Regions from separate parts of the Homo sapiens genome. Here regions 1 and 3 are each linked to region 2. Evidence: promoter capture Hi-C in human tissues and cell types (Jung and others, 2019). All regions are on one chromosome and are shown on one strand. The core of a region is centred on a gene start or on the middle of the fragment in contact, and the rest is flanking DNA. Distances in the headings are between cores, read along the strand shown. Region 1 overlaps LOC101928391 (a long non-coding RNA gene). Region 2 holds the start of GPATCH3 (G-patch domain containing 3). Region 3 overlaps ARID1A (AT-rich interaction domain 1A).

Region 1 (3,831 bases), core at 908-3,407, 130 kb before region 2:
AGATCACCTGCAGTTGGGAGTTGGAGACCACCCTGACCAACATGGAGAAACCCCGTCTCTACTAAAAATACAAAATTAGCCAGGCATGGTGATGCACGCCTGTAATCCCAGCTACTCGGGAGGCTGAGGCAGGAGAATTGCTTGAACCTGGGACGCAGAGGTTGTAGTGAGCCAAGATCACACCATTGCACTCCAGCCTGGGAGACAGAGAGAGACTCCATCTCAAAAAAATAAATAAATAAATAAATAAATAAATAATTTATATAATAGTCACTTTGTGCCAGGCATTGCTCTGACACTTTACAAATTTCAACTCACTGATTTAAACCTCCTGAGATAGGTACTACTATTGCTCCCATTTTACAGATTAAAAAAACTGAAGCAGAGTTAAGTAGCTTACCCAAGATGACACAACTAGTTAGTGACAGAGCTGGGATGTAACAAGGGAGTCTGAGCTCTTAATCTTGGTGCTCTTTGGCCCTAAGTGCTTCACCCTGTTCTAAAAACCTTCCCTGCCCGCCCTGGCCAGGCTGAAGAAGACTCTGCTCTTTTTGTCTGTCATTTGGAAAAGGGCCTCCAGAAGTCAGTCCCTTGTCTTGGGATAGAAATGCCCCCACTGACCTTGTCCAGGGCCTCCCATCCCCCCCAGTCAGGAAGTCCTTCCTGTTGTCTGACTTGAATCTGGGCTGAGGCAGCAGTTCCCAGGGAAGAACCTCTTCAGCTGGGATACCTGGTGGGAGGGGCCTCAGGAGATATGGTGGAGGAGGGAGGGGGCTCAACCCTGAACTCTCAGAGAGTGGAATTTGGGGGGCAGGTTCTGGGCATCTGAGTGGTGGCAGAGCTCTGGGGCAGGAAACCCTGTTAGCTCCTCTCCAAAGGGATCTTGCTTTCCCCACCCCTCCATAACTGCACCAGCGACTTCTCAAACTACCTCCCAAGCTCAGATAAAAGCAGGAACGAAGGAAGTGACAGCATTGGACAGGCCAAGCCTGCTGCAAGACATCTGGATATCACTGTCACCATCAGACACCACATTGGCAACTGCTACCAAAGACCACTTTTCTTTCCTTTTTTTTTTTTTTTTGAGACAGAGTCTCCCTCTGTCACCCAGGCTGGAGTGCAGTGGCGCGATCTCAGCTCACTGCAACCTCAGCCTCCCGGGTTCAAGCAATTCTCCTGCCTCAGCCTCCCAAGTAGCTGGGATTACAGGCATGCGCCACCACGCCCGGCTAATTTTTTTTTTTTTTTTTTGTATTTTCAGTAGAGACAGGGTTTCACCATATTGGCTGGGCTGGCAAAAGCCTCCTTTCTAAGTGAATTCTTACCCTCCTGTCTTGGCATCACTCACTCCAAGCCCTGGGCTACGCCCCTTGGCCGCCCCAGGTTATGTGCCCATGTCCTCTCTGCCAGGGAGTAGGAAGAGGGGTCTGTGGTCCCCTCCAGCTTCTATAGTGGGCAATAGGGCCCAGATGTCCATCAAGACTCATGTAGTGGGGGCTCCTCCCCAAAGAGAAAGGGGCTTTGAATGTAATGGGAAGACAGGAAGGGCTGTCCTTTGATAAGAGGAGGAGTTCGTCCTCAGGAGTGAGGGAGGAAGGAGGAAATGGGCACAAGGCAGACAGAAAACAATGAAAGTCCTGCTCAGAGAGGAAGCCCGGGGGCCGGGATACACATAGAAGCTGGAGGAAATGCTGCCCTCTGTACCAAAAGCAAATCAAAGTTGGAGGCGCCCGGACCTCTCAACCCCAGGAGGCTCAAAGCCCCTTGAGCTCACCCAGCAACCTCTGCTGCCCCCCACCACAGGGGCACCTGCAGAGCACTAGCCCCTCTTTCATACTCTGGCCCAAATGTTGGGGGGAAGCTTGGCCCATTCCCTTTAGAGCCCGGTGGAGAGAAGAAACCAGGCTTGGACCTGCAAACAAGATGTTAGCAATGGCCCAGGGACAACAAAGGGGAAATAAACACAGACATGTACTATATATTCCATGTGCATTTATCTGGTACCAGCCAGATTCCAGGTACCACAGACAATGAGCACGCTGCCCTCATGGAGCTTACACTCTAGTGGGGAAGACCCTGAAACAAGTCACACTGCAGTAAACAAGGTGACCCATCAGTGCTGGGCTGACCACAACAAAGGTGAAAACATGGAGAGTAACTGGGGAGCCCCCTTTAGAGGGAAAGGTCAGGGAAGGGCTCTTTGGGCCAAGACTGGGACGATGAGTAACCAGACACGCAGAGACTGGGAGGCAACTGTGGGCTCCAAGTCCCTGAGGTAGGAACAAGCTTGTTGTGCTTGTAGAACAGAAAAGGGGCCAATCGAAGCTGAAACACAAGGAGCCGGGGGTGGAAGGGGGAGATGAGGCTAAAGTCATCCCGTAAAGAATCAGCATTTTATTCCAGCCAATGGGAAGTCACTAAGGACTGTCCTTTAGGCCTGGCGTGGTAGCTCACGCCTGTAATCCCAGCACTTTGGGAGGCAGAGGCGGGAGGATCACTTGAGGTCAGGAGTTCGAGACTAGCCTGGCCAACATGGTGAAACCCCATCTTTACTAAAAATACAAAAAGATTAGCTGGGCGTGGTGGTGCACACCTGTAATCCCAGCTACTCAGAAGGCTGAGGCAGGAGAATTGCTCGAACTTGGGAGGCAGAAGTTGCAGTGAGCTGAGATCGCGTCACTGCACTCCGGTCTGAGCTAGAGAGCAAGACTCCGTCTCAAAAAAAAAAAAAAAAAAAAAAAGACTGTCCTTTGATAAGAGGAGGGACCCAACCTCAGATGTGAGTCAGGAAGGAGAAGAAGAAGGGCACGGTGCAGGTAGGAATACAGATTACACCATGGAAAGGTGAGCGCGTCCCACAGCTGGGCTCCTGTCTCCTCAATGCAGCATGAGGCCAGGTCATCACTGCACAGTGGAGGAAGGGGAGAGTGGCAGGAGATGTGTTCATTAGGTCACATCAGGTTTCCAGTTTCCTGCATAGAGCCACAACACAGCCCTGAGGACCCTGGGCCCTAATTGGCCCTCATACCCCTGGGCACCTGGCCGTGTCCCTTGAGTGACAGAGGCATTTACTTCACTGGCCTCTTCTCCCCGTCACTGAAAACACACCAGTAACTGAAGCTTCAACCATCACAATCACAATGTCAACTATAGCCACAATCATAATCACAGTCACACCAACAGGCACAAGGGCAGGACAGGAAGTCCTCAAGGGTACCCTAACTTGGCAAGCCAGCAGGACCCCAGCCCCTTTCTGGGCCCCGTGGAAGGCAACGGGACTGTCCTGGAACAGGTACGGGGGGTGCTGGAGCCAATTCTGCACATCTCTTCACAACTTCACGTGTAGTGGCGTCATGTGGGTAGCCTGAAATTGACCATGGTGGAGGGCTTTTGGTTATTCTTTCCAGCTAGCCAGTTTACCAGAATCCATACCTCTGGACAGAGCCCTGAGGACAGTTAGAGAAGCTGTGCCCTCCCCGCCCCCACAAGTCCAGCTGCCACTAGAAAGAGCTGGTTGTGGTACCACTTTCTTGTGTAAGCACCAGGACCTTAAGTAGGAACAGTGGAAGGAGATGGCCAGTCATGTTCACAGAGTCCTGGTGGCTGAGCTGTAAGGTGGGGAATGTGGGTCGAGATGGGGAGTTCATCTGCCCTGAAAACCCACCCAGTGGTGAGTCAGAGACCCTGGGCCTCAGCTCGGGGACATCACCTTCACTCAGAGCCTCTGCTCTAGCCCAAGAGCCTAAGACCTGTGGGCTCCAAGACGCCTGCCTAACTCACCCTACTAGAACAAGAATCCTGGGCTGGTTCTGTCCTGGGAGAAGCTAAGAG
Region 2 (3,619 bases), core at 359-2,858:
ACAGTGGGAAGGCATTTCTTAAGCCTTAGTTTTCCAGGATCACAGGGCTTGGGTAAAAGTCAACATTATCAATAAGTCTTCTGATAAACATGTGCAGTCATTTTTTTTATTGTTTAGACAAGGGTCTTGCCAACTTGGCCAGGCTGGTCTCAAACTTCTAAGCTCAAGGGATCCTCCTACACCAGCTTGCCAAAGTGCTGGGATTACAGGCGTGAACCACTGAGCTTGGCCCTTTATTTTTTGCTTTTGTTTGAGGTCTCTCAATCTACAGGTTCCTCCTATCACCCAGTATAATGTGTAGACTTTGTCTGAATTATGAATCAATGAATCAATAGTAATCAAATAACCCAATTAAAAAACGTACAAAGAGGGCCGGGTGCGGTGGCTTACATCTGTAATCTCAGCACTTTGGGAGGCCAAGGCGGGTGGATCACCTGAGGTCAGGAGTTCGAGACCAGCCTGACCAATATGGTGAAACCCCGTCTCTACTAAAAATACAAAAATTAGCCGGGCGTGGTGGCACGCACCTGTAGTCCCAGCTACTCGGGAGGCTGAGACAGGAGAATTGCTTGAACCCGGGAGGCGGAGGTTGCAGTGAGCCGAGATCGCACCATTGCACTCCAGCCTGGATGACAGAGCGAGGCTCCATCTCAAAAAAAAAAAAAAAAAAAAAAAAAGACAAAAAGGCGGGGACCGTGGCTCACACCTGTAATCCTAACACTTTGGGAGGCTGAGGCCAGTGGATCACTTGAGCCCTGGAGTTCAATACCAGCCTGGGCAATGCAGTGAGACCCCATCTCTACAAATAGTTTAAAAAATTAGCCAGGCATAGTGGGTTGCATCTGTGGTCCCAGCACTCCAGCCTGGGCGACAGAGCGAGACCCCAACTCAAAAATAAATAAAATATTACCTACAAGTGCTGAGTCAAATGATGTGTAGCTTTGCTTTTACTAGATAACGCCAATTGTTTCCCAAAGTGGTTGTATCAACTTACATTTCCACCAACAGTGTATGAGAGCTTCAGTTCCACCATGTTGTCATCGACTCTAAGGTTTTAAAGTTTGCCAACATAGTGGATGCAAAGTGGGTCTCGCTGCATTTCTTTTATTATTGAGTTGTGCATCTTTTCTTTAACGTAAGCCTCTAGTAACTCATAGCACTTTCATTGTAAATTGGACCTGCGTGTTTCCTCTTTTGCGAAGTATCTTCGGCCCATTTTTCTACCGGGTTATCTTTTTCTTACCGATTTGTGGGAGTTCATCAACACATTTTGGAAAAATAAATGGAAGAACGACTAAAGGTTCAGAACTGAGGAAGGTTGAGATTAGGTGTGCAATATCCACAACTAAATACCTCAAAAATGACCCCTCCCGCAGGCTTCTTATTTGGTCCTCATGAGAGCTTTATGAAAGAACTCTATGACCCCATTTTCCAGGTGAGTTTTTCCATCATCGCCGGCTTCCCTCTGTGGGAAAGGAACACAGAAGACTTCGGATCTTCCAGCTCCAGGTTCCACAACCCCAATCCCAAAGGACTAGTTAGAATTTTCACAATCTCGCAACGCAGGGGCTGGAACGTTGCTCGCGGTGTTCTCGCGAGACTTGGTTCTAGCTGATCATGTGACAATCCAAGATGGCGGTGCCCGGCGAGGCGGAGGAGGAGGCGACAGTTTACCTGGTAGTGAGCGGTATCCCCTCCGTGTTGCGCTCGGCCCATTTACGGAGCTATTTTAGCCAGTTCCGAGAAGAGCGCGGCGGTGGCTTCCTCTGTTTCCACTACCGGCATCGGCCTGAGCGGGCCCCTCCGCAGGCCGCTCCTAACTCTGCCCTAATTCCTACCGACCCAGCCGCTGAGGGCCAGCTTCTCTCTCAGACTTCGGCCACCGATGTCCGGCCTCTCTCCACTCGAGACTCTACTCCAATCCAGACCCGCACCTGCTGCTGCGTCATCTCGGTAAGGGGGTTGGCTCAAGCTCAGAGGCTTATTCGCATGTACTCGGGCCGCCGGTGGCTGGATTCTCACGGGACTTGGCTACCGGGTCGCTGTCTCATCCGCAGACTTCGGCTACCTACGGAGGCATCAGGTAAGAGTGAGAAAGTTAATAGACTGGGCCTACGGGCCTGGAACAGAGGCACCTTTTCAGAGGAGTGGTGAGGATAAGTCAGGCCTCTGGTTAGGACTCTATGAGTTTAGTTCATATTCTAGACAGAGCTTCAGGCTCAACTTGCAGGGAGTTAGTCCAATACATGGAGAAAAATAAACCGGAGAGGCTTATTCGGAAGAGCCTTCATTTTGTTAGGTCCCTTTTGAGACCCTTTCTCTATCCAAGGGGTTGATTTTGCACTAACACAGAAAGAAAAAAGGAAATCCAGTCTCTAACCCTTTTACTGTCTTTCTCTCCTGCTCTCTCTGTGCTTCCTACCCAGTCCTTTCAGTAAGATACAAATGAAGAGACAATCTTTTCTCTGGACAGCTCCCACTTTCATGGGAAATCAGTTTGATGGGGAAACAGGACAGTGCAGAGCCCTCCAGTTCACACATTCAACAAATGCTTACATTGCTAGACCTAGTGTGACTAGCTGGGTATGCAGAGAACAGTTGGACATAGTGTGTGCTCAGAATCCACAAAGGAAGACATTTGGAAAAAGGTTATTGCCACAGAGATGTCATTCTAATTGTTAGCATTCACTGAGCACTCTGTATTTAGTAGGCGCTGTTCTAAGCCTTTTGTTTTCTTACCCCTCTCAACAGTCCTATGAGATAGGAGCTGTTGTTTCTCCCATTTCATAGGTGAAGAAACTGAGGGAAGCCGAAGTTATGTGACTTGCCTGAGGTTACAGAGTTAGTTAGTGTCAGAGCTACAACAAACCTAGGCATCTGTTCCAGAGCCTATACTGTTTATCACCAAGTGCTGTGAGATGACAGAGAAGGGAGAAACTAACTTCCTAGATGGATCATGAAATGTGGCTTTCCATCTGGGTCTTGAAAAATAAATAGGAGTTAATAGGAGAGAATGGTGTTTCTGGGTTTCAGGGTAAATGGCGTTTGCAAAGACACAGCTTTGAAAGCCCGTGAAAAACTTTCAGGGCATGTTAAATTGTTCATTGTGGGCTGGGTTGCAATGGCTCGTGCCTGTAATCCCAGCACTTTGGGAGGCACAGGTGGGTGGATCTCTTGAGCTCAGGAGTTCCATACCAGCCTGGGCAACATGGTGAAACCCTGTCTCTACCAAAAATACAAATTAGCCGGTTGTGGTGGCGCATGCCTGTAGTCCCAGCTACTTGTGAGGTTGAGGTGGGGGGATCACTTGAGCCCAGGAGGTGGAGGTTGCAATGAGTCAAGATCGCGCCACTGTACTCCAGCCTGGGTGACAGAACGAGACCCCATCTCAAAAAAAAAAAAAGAAGAAAAAAAAGAAATTAGGAGAAAAATTGTTTGGTGTGGCTGGAACACATCGTATGAAGACATGCAGGAGGTGGGAGTTGGTGACAGCCGAGAATCAAAAGGTCATCAGGTGGGTAGATATCACTTGAGGCCAGGACCAGCCTGGACAACATGGCGTAACCCTGTCTGTACTAGAAATACAAAAATCAGCCAGGCATGGTGGCACATGCCTGTA
Region 3 (3,728 bases), core at 919-3,418, 190 kb after region 2:
TTCATCGGAAATCCAAAACAACAAAACCCTAAGTGGAAGGGATGGAAGGGAATGACAGGACAGAGCTCTAGGCACGATGTCAAATTGTTAACTAATGGCTTTTCAGTCTTTCACCCCATTTAAGAGTTTCAGGCTATTGTAAAAATAATGTCCTAAACAATCTTGGTGCCTGAGTAATTTATTTTGGAGAAGCAAAGTTAGTATTTTAGATTGTAATACCTTTGAAGAGTCAGACAAACCTTGTCTACCTTGTCAGACAAACCCAACTCTACCTTTTACCAGCTATTTTCCCTAGGGCAAATTTCTTATCTTACTCTATTTCCTCATTTGTAAAAGAGGAAGATTAATAATAGAACCCACCTCCTATACAGTTTTGAAGATTAAATTAGGAAATTCATCAAGAGGACTAAGCATAATGCTTAGCACATAATAAGTACTCAAATGCATGGTGGCCATCATTTGAAAGTCAGGATCCTTGCCAGGCACAGTGGCTCACGCCTGTAATCCCAGCACTTTGGGAGGTCAAAGCCGGCGGATCACCTGAGGTCAGGAGTTCGAGACTAGCCTAGCCAACATGGTGAAACCCCATCTCTACTAAAAATACAAACATTAGGCCGGGCGTGGTGGCTTATGCCTGTAATCCCAGCACTTTGGGAGGCCGAGACGGGTAGATCACGAGCTCAGGAGTTTCAGACCAGCCTGGCCAGCATGATGAAACCCCATCTCTACTAAAAATACAAAAATTAGCAGGGCGTGGTGGAAGGCGCCTGTAGTCCCAGCTACTCGGGAGGCTGTGGCAGGAGAATCACTTGAACCTGGGAGACGGAGGTTGCAGTGAGCCGAGATCACACCACTGGACTCCAGCCTGGGCGATAGAACAAGACTCCATCTCAAAAAAAAAAAAAAAAAAAAAAAAAATTAGCCAGCCGCGGTGGCGCATGCCTGTAGTCCCAGCTACTCAGGAGACTGAGGCAGGAGAACCCCTTGAACCCAGGAGGCGGAGACTGCAGTGAGCTGAAATTGCCCCACTGCACTGCACTCCAGCCTGGGTGACAGAGCAAGACTCCGTCTAAAAAAAAAAAAAAGTCAGGATCCTGGTGAGGATCTGTGACCCAAGAACAGATAAACTACCTACAGAATTGTTCCCCAAAAGCTTTGTAATATGGTTCTCTTTAGAAGCCTAAATTCCTAAACAAGCACAATGTTAGAAATCTGGAGACTAAAAGCCGGTTATCCAAACCTAAATTACCAAGAGTTTCACATAACGCTAGATCAACCTGTGAACTCCAACACCTTAGGACCAGAACAGAATGTTGTCCAAAGGGCAAGAGAAAAAGACATACATATTTGCCAAAGAGACACAGTAATAAACCAATTCCCAGCATTTCTGCCCTGTTCTCTAAGGACAACAGAAAGCAACAATGTCTACCCCAGACAGGAGAAATCACTGGGCAAGAAGAGCCCAAAGATATATCTGTTTCTTCCAAAAGGAAGCATCCAACACTATGTGGCCTTTAATCCCTCTACCACGTGGCTGAATTTGCACTTTTCTTAAAGTCAAAGTACACGGCAGTTGAGAGTAAACAGCTGGGCCCAAAGGCACTCATGCCCGGCAAGCACGTTGTGACCTCAAAGAAAACATGAGCAAAATAAAAACACCAAGCACACACCAAATGGGCTTTTAATTGACTGATATCACAACAACCCCCAAGCACCCCTGGTGCTAGATCTTAAGGGGAAAAGAAGGGTTCCTTTTAACAGAGATGCCTATAAACAAGCAAGCTGAAAACGAACAAGTTTAAGAGAGAAAAGCATACAAAAATCTTGGCTGCTAGTGATGAGCCATGGAAAATCATGAATCTGCCAGTGCCAAGGGAGGAGGAAGTCTAATATCTAACTTTGCAGACTTGGGAACATAAAAGCAACAAAGCCATAAGGAAGCCCAAATGCAAAAGAGAGAAAAAAAGGCACATGGCACATTTCCTCTTCATATGGGTAGCAATTCAAGCAGCGCTTTGGGCCTGCAGAGCACTTAGCTCAGTACCCAAAGCCCCTTAGTATTTATATCAACATAACTTCCTGGAGGGTGACAAAAATCTGTCCTGGATTACTGGGTGATTTCTAATATGTACCATGACCAACACTAAGTCAACATTTTAGGGATCAAATTTCCTACTCTGCAGCATGTTGGAATGCATTCTTGGCATTAGACTTCTTCCCATTCCAGTCCACCCTTAGAAAATGCAGAAGCCACTGGGAAATAGACTCAACCTGTCCCAAGATAATATTCCAGCTATGCACAAGTGACTAACAAAAACAAACAGAAGTTCATTCAGATGTCCCTTCACATTCAGTAAAAAACTAATTTCATCCATTTAAATGGAGAGGAGGGGTAATTTCAGGAAGAATACTCAAGGCTACTAAGTCAATATTCACCCGAACTTGGATTCCTCTAAAACCTGGGAATGATCAGAGTTCAAGCCCCTAAACACCTGTAATCCATAGGAGGTTAACTATGGTGCCCAATTCTGAGTAACTGAAAACCCACTTTTGCAAAATGCCAAAATGGCAAGGCAAAAAAAGTGGAAAAGGTATTTCTAAACCAGAATGTTTATCCAAGACTCCAGTACTTTCAGCAGGTCATGGACCATTACTTGAGGGGGGGGGAAAAAAAAAAAAGGCTGGGCGTGGTGGCTCACACCTGTAATTCCAGCACTTTGGAAGGCCAAGGTGGGTGGATCACACCCGAGGTTGGGAGTTCAAGACCAGCCTGGCCAACATGATGAAACCCCACCTCTACTAAAAATACAAAAATTAGCCGGGCATGGTGGTGGAAGCCTATAATCCCAGCTACTCAGGAGGCTGAGGCATGAGAATCGCTTGAACCTGGGAGGCAGAGGTTGCAATGAGCCAGATTGCACCACTGTACTCCAGTCTGGGTGACAAAGTAAGACTCCATCTCAAAAAAAAAAAAAGGTCTGCAGTACTTCTGTACTGGAGCAGTGTAACCAATCCTTCTCCAGGTAGAAGCATTACAGTGGCCTGGCACTGGACATGCCATGCATCTTCAGCTGTTAAGCATCCACTGATGATCCTTGACCGGTGAAGTGCCAAGGCCCAACCACAGATCGACCAGCAGGTAAAGAAACCAAAATCACTATATTCCAGAGGCTCCACAAGGATTAAGCATTGGTGAGCAGCATTTGTTAGCTGCTTGGCCATAGTAACCTAATAAAAAACAAATTTTTTTTTTTTTTTTGAGACAAGGTCTTGGCTCCATTGCCCAGGCTGGAGTGCACTGGCGTAATCATGGCTTACAACAGCCTCAACCTCCTGGGCTCAAGCAATCCTCCTGCCTCAGCTTTCTAAGTAAACTGCGACTACAGGCACGTACCACCACATCCAGCAATTTTTGTGTCTTGTAAAGATGGGGTCTCCCTATGTTAATAGCCTGGTCCCAAGGCTGGTCCTGGGCTTGGGCAATCCTCCCACCTTGGCCTCCCAAAGTGCTGGGATTATAGGTGTGAGCTACCGCGCCCGGCCAAAAACAGTATTAAAGGCCATTTCTATGAATAAATGGGCAGACTGCATATGTGCAGGCTTACCTAACCCATCAACCTCAATATAAGGTCTAACACAAGCAACTTGACTTGAACACAGCTCCCAGCTCCTCAGAAATAGCAGCCTAAGAGTCCCAACAGATACTTACTTCGTGGCTCTTGTTTTAA

The links. Contacts are between HindIII fragments. The study calls those that stand out against the background at their distance.
Region 1: a fragment that was not itself captured here is called in contact with the fragment with the promoter of GPATCH3 in region 2 in 1 of the 25 tissues and cell types used here (neural progenitor cells).
Region 3: a fragment that was not itself captured here is called in contact with the fragment with the promoter of GPATCH3 in region 2 in 1 of the 25 tissues and cell types used here (lymphoblastoid cells).

The regions. Positions count from the first base shown.
Region 1 is chr1:27,033,749-27,037,579 of GRCh38, reverse strand. All of the region lies in intron 2 of LOC101928391 (a long non-coding RNA gene), which reads right to left. Among named protein-coding and RNA genes, the nearest start is that of TENT5B, 23 kb to the right of the region's middle. RefSeq lists an enhancer at 2,173-2,674. The HindIII fragment of the contact is 4,027 bases long and covers 144-3,831 here.
Region 2 is chr1:26,898,456-26,902,074 of GRCh38, reverse strand. GPATCH3 (G-patch domain containing 3) reads left to right here and starts at 1,608. Exons shown (of 7, transcript NM_022078.3): 1 at 1,608-2,083. The coding sequence starts at 1,633. It also overlaps a transcript of NUDC not described here. RefSeq lists an enhancer at 1,544-1,663. The HindIII fragment of the contact is 3,671 bases long and covers 1-3,000 here.
Region 3 is chr1:26,704,391-26,708,118 of GRCh38, reverse strand. The region is part of intron 1 of ARID1A (AT-rich interaction domain 1A); the gene reads right to left. Among named protein-coding and RNA genes, the nearest start is that of ARID1A, 10 kb to the right of the region's middle. RefSeq lists an enhancer at 204-703. The HindIII fragment of the contact is 8,241 bases long and covers 1-3,728 here.